Linked DNA regions of Homo sapiens: region 1 is linked to region 2. The links are contacts of gene promoters, found by promoter capture Hi-C in blood cells and fetal thymus (Javierre and others, 2016). All regions are on one chromosome and are shown on one strand. The core of a region is centred on a gene start or on the middle of the fragment in contact, and the rest is flanking DNA. Distances in the headings are between cores, read along the strand shown. Region 1 overlaps GRB10 (growth factor receptor bound protein 10). Region 2 holds the start of IKZF1 (IKAROS family zinc finger 1).

Region 1 (5,566 bases), core at 426-2,925, 360 kb after region 2:
CAGACACCAATGCCACGTTCTCATGGGGAACAAGCTCTGATCCCAAGAAAAACACCAGCAGGCAAAATTCCCCGGTTTCCTTGTTCTGCTTACAAATTTGGACAATCCCTGGGGGTGGAGGCCAATTTTCTTGCCAAAGGCTGAGAGAGCCAGATAATATTTTCATGGTCTTATTTTAGAATGGGTAGCTCTGTAAACAACCTCAGTGACAAAACCCACAGACAGCTTGTCTGGATCCTTATTTGAAGCAGAAGGTCACCAGCGAGGTAGACATCCCAGATGCACTTTAGACATGTGACAAAGTGCACAAGCCCAGCCAGTGCTGGCTCCCAGATGAGGGACACTTACCTCACCTTCTAAGTTTTGATAGTGCCATAATGCAGCCTGCTCCGGGGGCCTGAGGTCAGAACGGGACCCACACTTGGGAGCCAGCGGGTATTGGAAAAAGGTCTCTCTCTCAAGAGGACAGACCTTGCATGGCACAGGACAGGCAGATTTGCAGAGAAAGGGATGGCTGGCCTGTCTTGCTTGAGAACAGCAAAGGTAGGGAAGTGAGAGCAAGTAGGGAGAAGAGATGATTCAAGTAGAAGGGCAAAATGACTTCTAAATATGCATTTAGCAGAAGGAAAGTCAAAGTCCCGGGAAGCCAATCAGCACAGTGGCTGCAATCACAGGCTCCGATTCTGAGGCCGGGTCACACTCAGCCGCACCATCAGGTCTCAGCCACACTCAGCTCAGCTGCTTACAGGGGCCTCCCTTCCCTCAACTGTGGAACAGAGGGAACATGCGTACTTAATTCATACGGGATGGCATGAGGAGTAAATGAACATATAAATAAACAAAAAATAAACATATCCACCACTTACGACAAGGCCTGGCACACAGAAATCCCTCACTCCATAAACATCAGATGGCGCAGTTGTTCTAATGATCACCTCCACCCCTAGGGGTCTTCCTCCAGAGGCTGCAGCCCATCCTGGCTCACAGCCCTGCCAACCGGTGGGGAGGAACTTTCAACCCCTTTCTCTGCCAGTTTCTCTGCTAAGCTGACTTGTTGGCTGTTTGACCTTGGACACATTACTGAAATGCTCTGTGCCTCAGTTTCCTCATATGGGGACAATGGTTGTGTCCTATCTACTTCATGGATCTACTTTAAGTAGAAACTACAAGTTCAAAAAGGAGGTTATTGCCCTGCGGGTCCAATGGAAACTCTTCTGCTTTCGGCAGATCATATTCAAAGTCAGGACTACAAGACAGAAACTCTTCAACTCCTGTGTACTGACATCCAGGTGCCCGGGTGAGCCCAGCATTTTCACACCTATTATTGAGCCAGTGGTGAAACTTTTTCAAAGAACTAAGATTCATCTTTAAACATCAAATCATTGTTATTATTTGCCATTTTTTATGAGACTTTTTCTAAAATATAAAGATAAAACAGAGTTTTGATCAATAATGAAAAGAGGTTTAATTGGTTCATGGTTCTGCAGCCTGTACAAGAATCATGGTGCGGGCATGTGCTCGGCTTCTGATGAGGACTTAGGAGCTTACAATCATGCCAGAAGGCAAAGCAGGAACTGGCGTCTCGCACAGCAGGAGTGGGAGCAAGGGGAGGAGATGACACGCACTTTTAAACAACCAGATCTCGTGAGAACTTACTATTGTGAGGACAGCACCAAGCCATGAGGAATCTACCCCTAAGATCCAATCACCTCCCACCAGGCCCTGCCTCCAAAATTGGGGATTACAATTCCACATGGGATTTGGAGGGGACAACATCCAAACTGTATCGGCCTCATAGGACAACAAGTACTGTGACAACAAGAAAAGAACTGAGAGAGAAGATCCCAGGACTTCCCGCCCTTCTTCCCAAAGTAATAATCTGGCACATCTGTGCAGATCCCAATAATCTGGCATATCCCTCAGCCTGGGCTCCAGCCAGGGGCACACTCACCTGCTTTGCGGCGGCCTGGCTCGGAGGTAAAGAACCCGGCGTGAGCACAGGGGGGCTCCCAGGGCCACAGAGTTCAGGAAAAGGATTGGGGATGGCCGGCAGAGATGAGGTTCTAAACTGCTGGTCTTCCTCCTGAAGGCGCCTGGAAGGCAGGGATAAGTGCCTGTTAAAAGCTGCCATTCCCCACATGACCCAGCCTTACCACTGTGGTGATACACCCAGAAAGCAGGACACAGGGCTTCTAGGAGTCACTGGCATGCCCACGTTCACAGTGGCATCCTTCACAAAAGCCAAAAAGTAGAGGCATCCCAAGGGTCTGCAGATGGATGAATGGATGAACAATATGTGGCATATCCATACCATGGAACACTACTCAGCCATGAAAAAGGAAGCACATTCTGACACAGGCTACGACACGGATGAACCCTGAAGACATTATGCAGAGTCAAACACACCAGTCACAAAACCAGAGACACTGTGTGATTTCACCCAGTGAGGTAGGTAGTGTATTCAAACCCATAGAAAATAGAAGGGTGGCTGCCAGGGGACTAAGGGGAGGGCAATGGGGAATCGCTGTTTATTGGGGACAGAGTTTCAGTTTCATAAGATGAGAAAGTTCTGGAGATTGTACAACCATTGTGAGTGTGCATTAATACTACCGAACTGTACCCTGAAAAAAACAGTTAATATGGTAAATTTTATGTTACATGTATTTTACTAAAACGAAAACTTTAAAAAAATTACAAGTTGTCATTCTCAGACCCAAAGGGTATTGGGTATCAATTCTCTTCTTCATTAGGCATCGGGGGCGGGGGGCGGGGTGCCGAAGTTTTGTTGTCCTGGGTGCGTGCTCATCTCAGGCAGCATTCAGTGCCTGACATGGCATCAGCTCCAAATACCTCATCCGTTTGATCAGTGAATACCTGATGTGTGAAAGTTTTCTGAATATGAGCATTTTCATGAGAACCAAGTGTTTTTCAATGTCCTTGAAATGAGCATTAATCTAATCAAATGAAAATACAAGAAAAGGCTGTGTGTTCTCATCTGAATTATGCAATGGATGGTTACTTATATAAAAAGGTTGTTGACACTGAATTAACTGGAAATTATAGCTTCATGTATCTGTCCTCGCAAAGCCTGTGTCCACATTAGAAACACACCTTGGAAACACACGCTGAATCCACACACCACCTCTACTTTCCTGGCACATCTCCAGGGGCATCTGTTCCCTCCTCCGAAAAATGCACAACCCACTTGTCACACAACTATGCAACACACACACAGTATGACGAATCAGAAGCAACTGTGAACAGCAGAGAAATCAAGTTCAAAGTCAAAGCGAATGTCAAGTGTCTGGCACCTCCCCTCTGTAGAGTAACTTCTGGCCCACACCTCCAGGGCACTCCTGGACACACAGCCTCCTCCACCCTTCCTGAGGCCACGCGGCCCTGTCTGCAGCCTCCTACCTTCAAGGAGAGGGGAGCAAACCTCACATTATCTTCACTCGGCATTTCCAATCCCTCCCCATGTTTAAACATACCTCAGAAACCCCCATCATAGGCTGTGTCCTCAAGTAATTTTTTTGACAATTTTTACGATTTCACAAAATCAACAATCCGTTAGCTTTCCCAGGAGATTTGCCACTACAGAAACACATTTTGTGACTGTATTACTTTTTCTCTTTTACCAACTTTCCCTATTTTTTAAAGGAAGATCCAGCTAACTATCCCACGTAGACCAGCAAATGATGCATGGATTTAAAATTACGAGAACTCACATGGCATGAAGGGAATCAGTGCTGCGAAATACAGGAAAGCCGTTCCTATAATGGTTTGATGACATGCCATAAAGTTTATTTTTACTGTGAACAAATCCCACTCTTCCCATAACAGCTTCAGCCTTGGCAAGGCGTCCAACTGAAACGTCTGGCCATTGTCATACAGGAGGAGATGGATAAAACGGGTGGCCAGTGCCACTTTCCCATCCACGGCTTCTAGCCAGTGACTTCACCCCAAAAAGATAATCTGACGTTTTAGTGTCCACAAAAGCTTCTCTATTTATTGGGTTGTTTTGAGCATTTTAAAAAGTCCTGTGTTGACTTTAAAGCGGCTCAGAGACATCGCCTAAGGCAAGACTAAGGGATATCACACAAAGACAAAAAATCCCCACCAAAGAGGCTCACAATAGAAGGGACAGTGACTATGGAGAGGGGTGCTGAGATTTAGGGATGTCAGGGATGGTGGCAGGAACTGCAGAGCTGAGGGGCGAGGTCCTTCTTCTCTGTGCCTTGGCTCACTTGTGTTTGTCTAGAACACATGCGTGGCCCTTGCACTCTCAAAAGCCTGGGTTCCTTCTCTGTACAGAATCGGCTCACCCATCGGCTTTCCTATGTGCAAAGCCTTCTTGCCCTTCCCAAGTGTCTCCTCTGCCCATACCCTGCCTGCCCCCCAGCTCCCTTCGGGTTGCATGGCAGCCCCCGGTAAGTTCCTCTGCAGCGTGGACCATGCTCCGTGACCTCTGGTACCCAGCAGCCTGCTCCATGGCCACTTCCCACCTGATGTGGTGAGCCCAGTTACCGCCCCGCTGTGCCACGGTTTCCTCAGCTGGGAAGCGAGGGTAACCCACACTGCCTCCCTCCGAGGGCACTGATAACAAGGAGGAGCTCATCAGCATCTGCACACAGTAAGCACTCAGCAAATGGCCTCACTTCACAAAATAATCTTTGGTGATTCCAGATTGATCTCCACATTTTTTTTTAATCCACCTGAAAGTAAGAAACAAAACTACTTATCTGAGAGGACACCAGAGAGAAGACATTGGGCCCAAGGAACAGCACCTGTGACCCTGTAGGGAGAGGGCTTTGCTGTCCCACAGAGCAAGCCTGCCCCTCCATCCCAGGGACTTAGCGCAGGTAGTCCCGGGGCACATATGGGCGAGTTCAGCCAGAACTCGAGGTTCAAGGGTCCTGGGCAACTACTCCAGCAGGGAGGCAGGCCTTCTGGCTTTCCAGCCCACCCTCGGGCACCTTCGCCATGCAACTGCACCTCCATATTCCCAGGCACTCCCCAAGGCTACTGTGATGCTCCCAAGAGATGCTCCCAAGAGAAAAACAGCTCTCCCACCAGACTTAACTCCTCAGGAGCTAAGTACAAGGGGTCACGCTTCAAAGAGCAAAGTTGAACAAACCCTGGGACAGGCATCATTCAGCATCAATGAATATGACAAAAAGTGAGAAGTCGGAGGGGAAGCCGGGGTGGGAAGCTGGGGAGGCAGCTGACCACGGGCGCCAGGGCCGCTGCACCCTCTCCCCTCCGTAAGAAACAGCTGCCACCTGGGGCAAGGTGATTATCTGGGCTGCGGAAGACCCAAGATGTCAGACCACAAAGAAAACTCTCAGAAGTTTCTAGAAGCAAGAAGAGCCCAGGAAATGAACAGAGCTCCCCGGAAGATGGGGTGCTGAGACAGAAGGCACCAGAACCCCATCCTGACAGAGGCCAGTGAGGGCAAGGGGCAGTCCCAGCAGAGATGGCTGTACATCCTCCGCAAAGGCCCAGAGAGGCACGCAGGGTCCCACGGAGCCCCACGCCATCCCGACTGCGACAGGGCAGACAGGCG
Region 2 (5,310 bases), core at 1,964-4,463:
GTTGTCCCTAAGGGTTTGAACATTTGATTTATATCACCTCTCTGGTCCCTCTGAGTCTATCCACAGACCCCAGGTTATAATAATATAAGCTTGACTTCCTTCAACTCCACCCGGTTGGGGGCAAGGGTAAGGCATGGTACCTGCAGCCTGACTGCTGTTTTGTTTTGTTTTGTGACAGGGTCTTGCTGTGTCGCCCAAGCTGGAGTGCAGTGGTGTCAATCATGGCTCACTGCAGCCTCAAACTTCTGGGCTCAAGGGATCCTCCTGCCTCAGCCTCCTAAGTAGGTTGTTGGGACTGCAGGTGCATACCATAACACCTAATTTTTAAATTTTTAATACAAATGGGGTTTGATTTTTAAAGTTTAAAATTTTTTTGTACAAACAGGGTCTTGCTTTGTTGCCCAGGCTGGTCTGGAACTCTTGGCTTGAAGTGATCTTCCCACCTTGGGCTCCAAACTCAGGTGTGAGTCACTGCACCCAGCCAAGGAGCCTGACTCTTCACAGTGCACTCCTCATCTCATTGGGACATTGGTTGGGCTAGCAGGGAATAACTGTTCTTACTTGGAAAGTACTCCTCTCTGTCAGGCATGTGGCAAGGTCTTCCATATGTGATCTCCTTAACCCACAAACAACCCCACCAGGAGGGTTATATTATCACCACCAATTTACAGATGGGGAAATTCAGGCTTTGAGAGATTAAGGACCTCAGTCAGATTCATAAGCCCAAACTATCTGGGCTCTTAGCCCCACATGCTCCTGCCTCAGTGGGCTACACCTTGGTGAGATGCCTATGTTTCGGTCCACTGGTCCACTCCTGAAGACCAAGGCACAGGTTTAGAGAGACGTACCAGCGGCTAAAGGTACTTCTGCATCCAAGAACTAGAGGTGTCCCGTGTCCCCTTTACAACATTGTTGGCCTCCCTCTGGGCCTTGTACCTTATGTTTATTGCCTCATTTAATCCAGGTAAGGAGTCTTTAGGATTGGTGGCATGTATTCTTTTTATAGACAAGGAAGATGATGCTCAGGAGTTTGGATAACCTGCCCAAGGTCACGCAGTGGAGGAGAGGACTAGAAGGTAAATCAATGGACCTTTCACTACCTTCCCCTTCTCTGGGCTGTAGCAGTGAGTTAACTGGCTCAGACTTGCCCAGCGGAATGCCCTTCAGGACACACTGAGTACTGTAGTAAGAGCTGCATATGCGCTCAGGGAGAATGTGGATAGACGCTGTTTGTGATTCACGGGTAAAGGGCCTTCTCCCAGAGGCAGCAGAGGCAGATCCTGTCTCTGGTGTGCCCTGGCCCCCGACTTGGAGGCCTCCTGGGCCAGGCCAAGACCTTCCCCGGCAGCGATGGTCTCCAGCCACACTCAACTGCCCTGAAGGGACATTTCCTGCTTATTCCCTTGCCCGGCTGTGTCCTCCACCCGGAAGGCCTGTGCCTTCTTCGCCTGCATGTCCTACCCTGAGGAGGCTCCCTTGGTCTTTCATCGCTCTCCCTATGGGTCTTCACGCCTTCCCGAACCACCGCGCCCAAGCAGGAGCACGTTCTCGGCCCTCTTCACAGGGCGCTCCTCCTCACAGGGGTGCCCGGGATTTTTATTCTGTGCCTTCCTGGTGGCTCCTACAAGTCTGGAAGGGCAGGAGGCGCATCTCACTCCTCTGGGTCCCCTCCCCTAGCGCCTGGCGGGAGCCCAGGCTGCATTTGTGGAATTCATGACTTTTTCTCTCCTGCTCAAGCTGAACACATTGCTGGCTCCTGCTCGGGTGGAGCCCGGCTAATTAGAGTGAGGGGCTCCCCGTAGGGCGAAGGGGTGCGCTGTCAGATGTGGCATTCCCGTTTTACGGAGACACACGGTGTCTTACACGCCAGGGAGAGGTCTGAGACGCAAAGAGCCGTCGAGCGGGCTGCGGGATTGCTTCGCTGTCACCTCCGCCTGCAGCCACCCTTCCGCACGCACTTGTGTGTGCACCCAGGCCAACATGGAAGGCGCCATCCTAACTTCTGCCGTGAGCAGGTGGGAGGGAAGAGAGACGAGAGGTATTCCATTGGTTGTCTGGGAAAATGAATTGCACCTTCCCCTCCCTTGCGGAGGATCAACTTTTCCCACCCCCTCGGGTGGGCACTCGCATCCTGGGGCCGGAGCCTGAACCCGGGAGCCAAGGGGCCCCAGTTCCAGGGACGTGAAGCTGAGCGTACAGCGGGCGCTCCCAGACACTGGGGAAAGTGCTTTACGATGTCCCGAGTCCCTCCAGTCTCGCCAGCGGGGCGAGCGTGAGGGTGCCCCGACCGACCAGCGGCCCCGGGTGCAGGGTGGCGGGCCCGGCGGCGCGCGTCCCCCTCCCCCTCCTGGCGGCCCGCACGTGTCGCCCGCGCCGCGCCCCCACGGGTTACGCGCGGGTCCCGCAGCGCCGCGGCCGAGCCGGGCTGCCCGGCCCGCGGACACAGCGCCGGCCGCCGCATCCCGTGCGGGGCCGCGGCGCGATGCTGCGCTGGAATGAGGAAGCGCGGCGGCGAGGGGAGGGCCCGGGCGCGGTGCGCGCGGGGGTGGCGGCGGCGCGCCGAGCGGGCCCGGCGCGGGCGAGCGGGCTGCAGCCGGCGGCGGCGCCAGCAGGTACGGCCCGCACCCGCCGCCGCCCCGGCGGCCTTTGGGGGCTGAGCCGGAGCCCGGCGCGATTGCAAAGTTTTCGTGCGCGGCCCCTCTGGCCCGGAGTTGCGGCTGAGACGCGCGCCGCGCGAGCCGGGGGACTCGGCGACGGGGCGGGGACGGGACGACGCACCCTCTCCGTGTCCCGCTCTGCGCCCTTCTGCGCGCCCCGCTCCCTGTACCGGAGCAGCGATCCGGGAGGCGGCCGAGAGGTGCGCGCGGGGCCGAGCCGGCTGCGGGGCAGGTCGAGCAGGGACCGCCAGCGTGCGTCACCCCAAAGTTTGCGGGGTGGCAGGGCGCGCGCTCTGGCCACCCGCCGCTCTGGGCGGCAGCTGGTGGCAACGCAAGGGCGCGGCGGGGGCGGCCGGCGCGGAGGGGGCCAGGTACGGGGCCCGCGGGCGGCGCTGTGCGCGCGGGGCAGCCGGTCGGCCGGGAGCGCGAAAGCCTGGTCTGAGCCGGCTGGGGGCGGGGAGTGTGGCGGAGAAATGGGGAACAATGCGAGTGAGCAACTTCAGGAAGTCATTGTGAAAGAAAGCTGGGAAGAGCTCCGCGGCCAAGTTAGCAGGACACTCTAACAAGTGACTGCGCGGCCCGCGCCCGGGGCGGTGACTGCGGCAAGCCCCCTGGGTCCCCGCGCGGCGCATCCCAGCCTGGGCGGGACGCTCGGCCGCGGCGAGGCGGGCAAGCCTGGCAGGGCAGAGGGAGCCCCGGCTCCGAGGTTGCTCTTCGCACCCGAGGATCAGTCTTGGCCCCAAAGCGCGACGCACAAATCCACGTGAGTGTTTTCAAATTGAATTTCAATAGGAAAACTTGGGGTAACTGGTGAATTTAAAAAAAAAAAAACACAGTAAAGAAAAGCGGTAAGGTTGGTAGACCCTGGTGTCGCTCAGGTCCGCCTCTCTTTTCTGAGGACAGTGAGAGAGTTCACTTCTGTCAAGCGTCTGTTGCTCTGCACTGTGCCAGCAGGTGCAGGACCAGGCCGACATGGGACACTTCTGAGCAGCCCCGCTGTCACCAGGAGAGGAGTTCTAGCTCCCAACCATATTTAAATTTATGTAGACCTACATATACCCACGGAAGTCAGCCTTTATAAAGTCGTGTGTAAAGAGTTTTCCTTATATTTGAGCCGGGAGCTTTCTTTTTATACTATAAATATGATGAGATCGAGTCTGAACTTAATTTCTGCAAGAGAGGAATTATCCCGGCTTTGAAAAGTTAGTCCTTTTGCTGACCGCAGGTTTGACGCTCAAGTCACCAAACCTTCTCAGGAAAACCCTTAGTAATATTAAGGCATCAGGTTACTTGCGGTTATATTTGAAATGTATTTTAAATATTTGTCAAGCATCGCTGCTGATGCCTAAGGAACCTCGTGAGGGCTTGTTTTTCCTTCTAATTTGGAGGCATCTAATGACCGAAAACCGTAGCGATTCCATAGGGTCTGACCAGGCACAGCTTTCAAATGCAGCTTCCCTCTCTCTAGGGACTGCAGCCCACCCAGACTGAATTTCAATGCGGTGCGCTTTGCTTAGGTTACCCACTCACAATTTCCCACTGCGCCGCAGGCAGTATATTTCAGCTTTGAGATACCTTGTTTTAAAATTCCAGACAAAATGGTGTTGAGGAAATGTCTCCTTACTAGTCCCATCAACTTCTGTTAAAAGAGGAAAATTTATGGAATTTGAAAATACTGCGTATGATATTTAAACTTTCATAGACATTCAAATGCTTTTAAGGCCAGGTTCAATTTGGTTATGAGTCGAGGGGTGGGGGGGACCCACATAGAAATGTCCTGGGTCCTCTTGAGTTTATTTCTTTGTTTGAAGATGTTTGTTCAATGAGTTTTATTGTACTCATCTTTTATATGGAATTTTAAAAAGTAACAATTTCAGTATTATTTATATTAGAATGTGTCAGAATTATTTCCGTGACAAATCAGATCATTTGGGCTATGGCTTAAAATGTACACGAGGCAAATATTCATGACAAGAAGATTCACCTTCTTACGCTGGCATCTTGTAAAATGCAGAACAAGTTAAAGAAATAATGTGTACACATACAAATAATGATGTCACATTAAAAATACTACACTATTCTTGCTTGATGGAATGTATCTGATTTCCAATTTCACCATGAACATATTTCATACATTTTTTACATGAAAAAAAACGTGACTCTTAAGTCTCACAGTCAATCAGAGCTGGTGACCAGAACATTTTATTGAACTAAATGGTCATGTTTTCTTCCCCTTTTGTTTCACGGTGAGAGTTGAAGGAAGGAGTTTAGAAACTCTCCAGTACTTGTTTAATTCATCAGTGTTCTAATTAGAGTGGTACCTCTTGGAAAACTACACACCCCCCTAATGCAGAAACATCATAGCAATAATCACCCACCCTCAGGGTCTCCAGGAGACCACAAGGGCTGCAGATAAAAGTCTGGATGTGTTAGGTTTGACCCTTTCGAAGAGTTTTACACAGGCTCCTAAAGAGAAGATCAGCTGTGGCCGTTTGTAGCCATTTCCTTTGTCGAAAAACTAAGATCGCAGTGAATGTATTAGCCAAGAGGTCTAAAGCCCTGTTGTACTGCAGGCCACTGTCTTCCTTGTTTGACTAGAGACTTGGAGTTTGAGAACAGTGGTTCTTTGGTTTGGATACATTTTTTGTTCTTG

The links. Contacts are between HindIII fragments. The CHiCAGO score rates a contact against its expected background, and 5 or more counts as called.
Region 1: a fragment that was not itself captured here is called in contact with the fragment with the promoter of IKZF1 in region 2 in 1 of 17 cell types (neutrophils); the score reaches 5.0 in neutrophils.

Annotation. Positions count from the first base shown.
Region 1 is chr7:50,667,771-50,673,336 of GRCh38, forward strand. It overlaps GRB10 (growth factor receptor bound protein 10), which reads right to left. Exons shown (of 19, transcript NM_001350814.2): 7 at 1,952-2,093. Among named protein-coding and RNA genes, the nearest start is that of DDC, 110 kb to the left of the region's middle. RefSeq lists enhancers at 1,470-1,971, 1,972-2,471. The HindIII fragment of the contact is 4,644 bases long and covers 1-3,997 here.
Region 2 is chr7:50,301,503-50,306,812 of GRCh38, forward strand. IKZF1 (IKAROS family zinc finger 1) reads left to right here and starts at 3,214. Exons shown (of 8, transcript NM_006060.6): 1 at 3,214-3,420. RefSeq lists an enhancer at 1,171-1,672 and a silencer at 2,527-3,326. The HindIII fragment of the contact is 6,071 bases long and covers 88-5,310 here.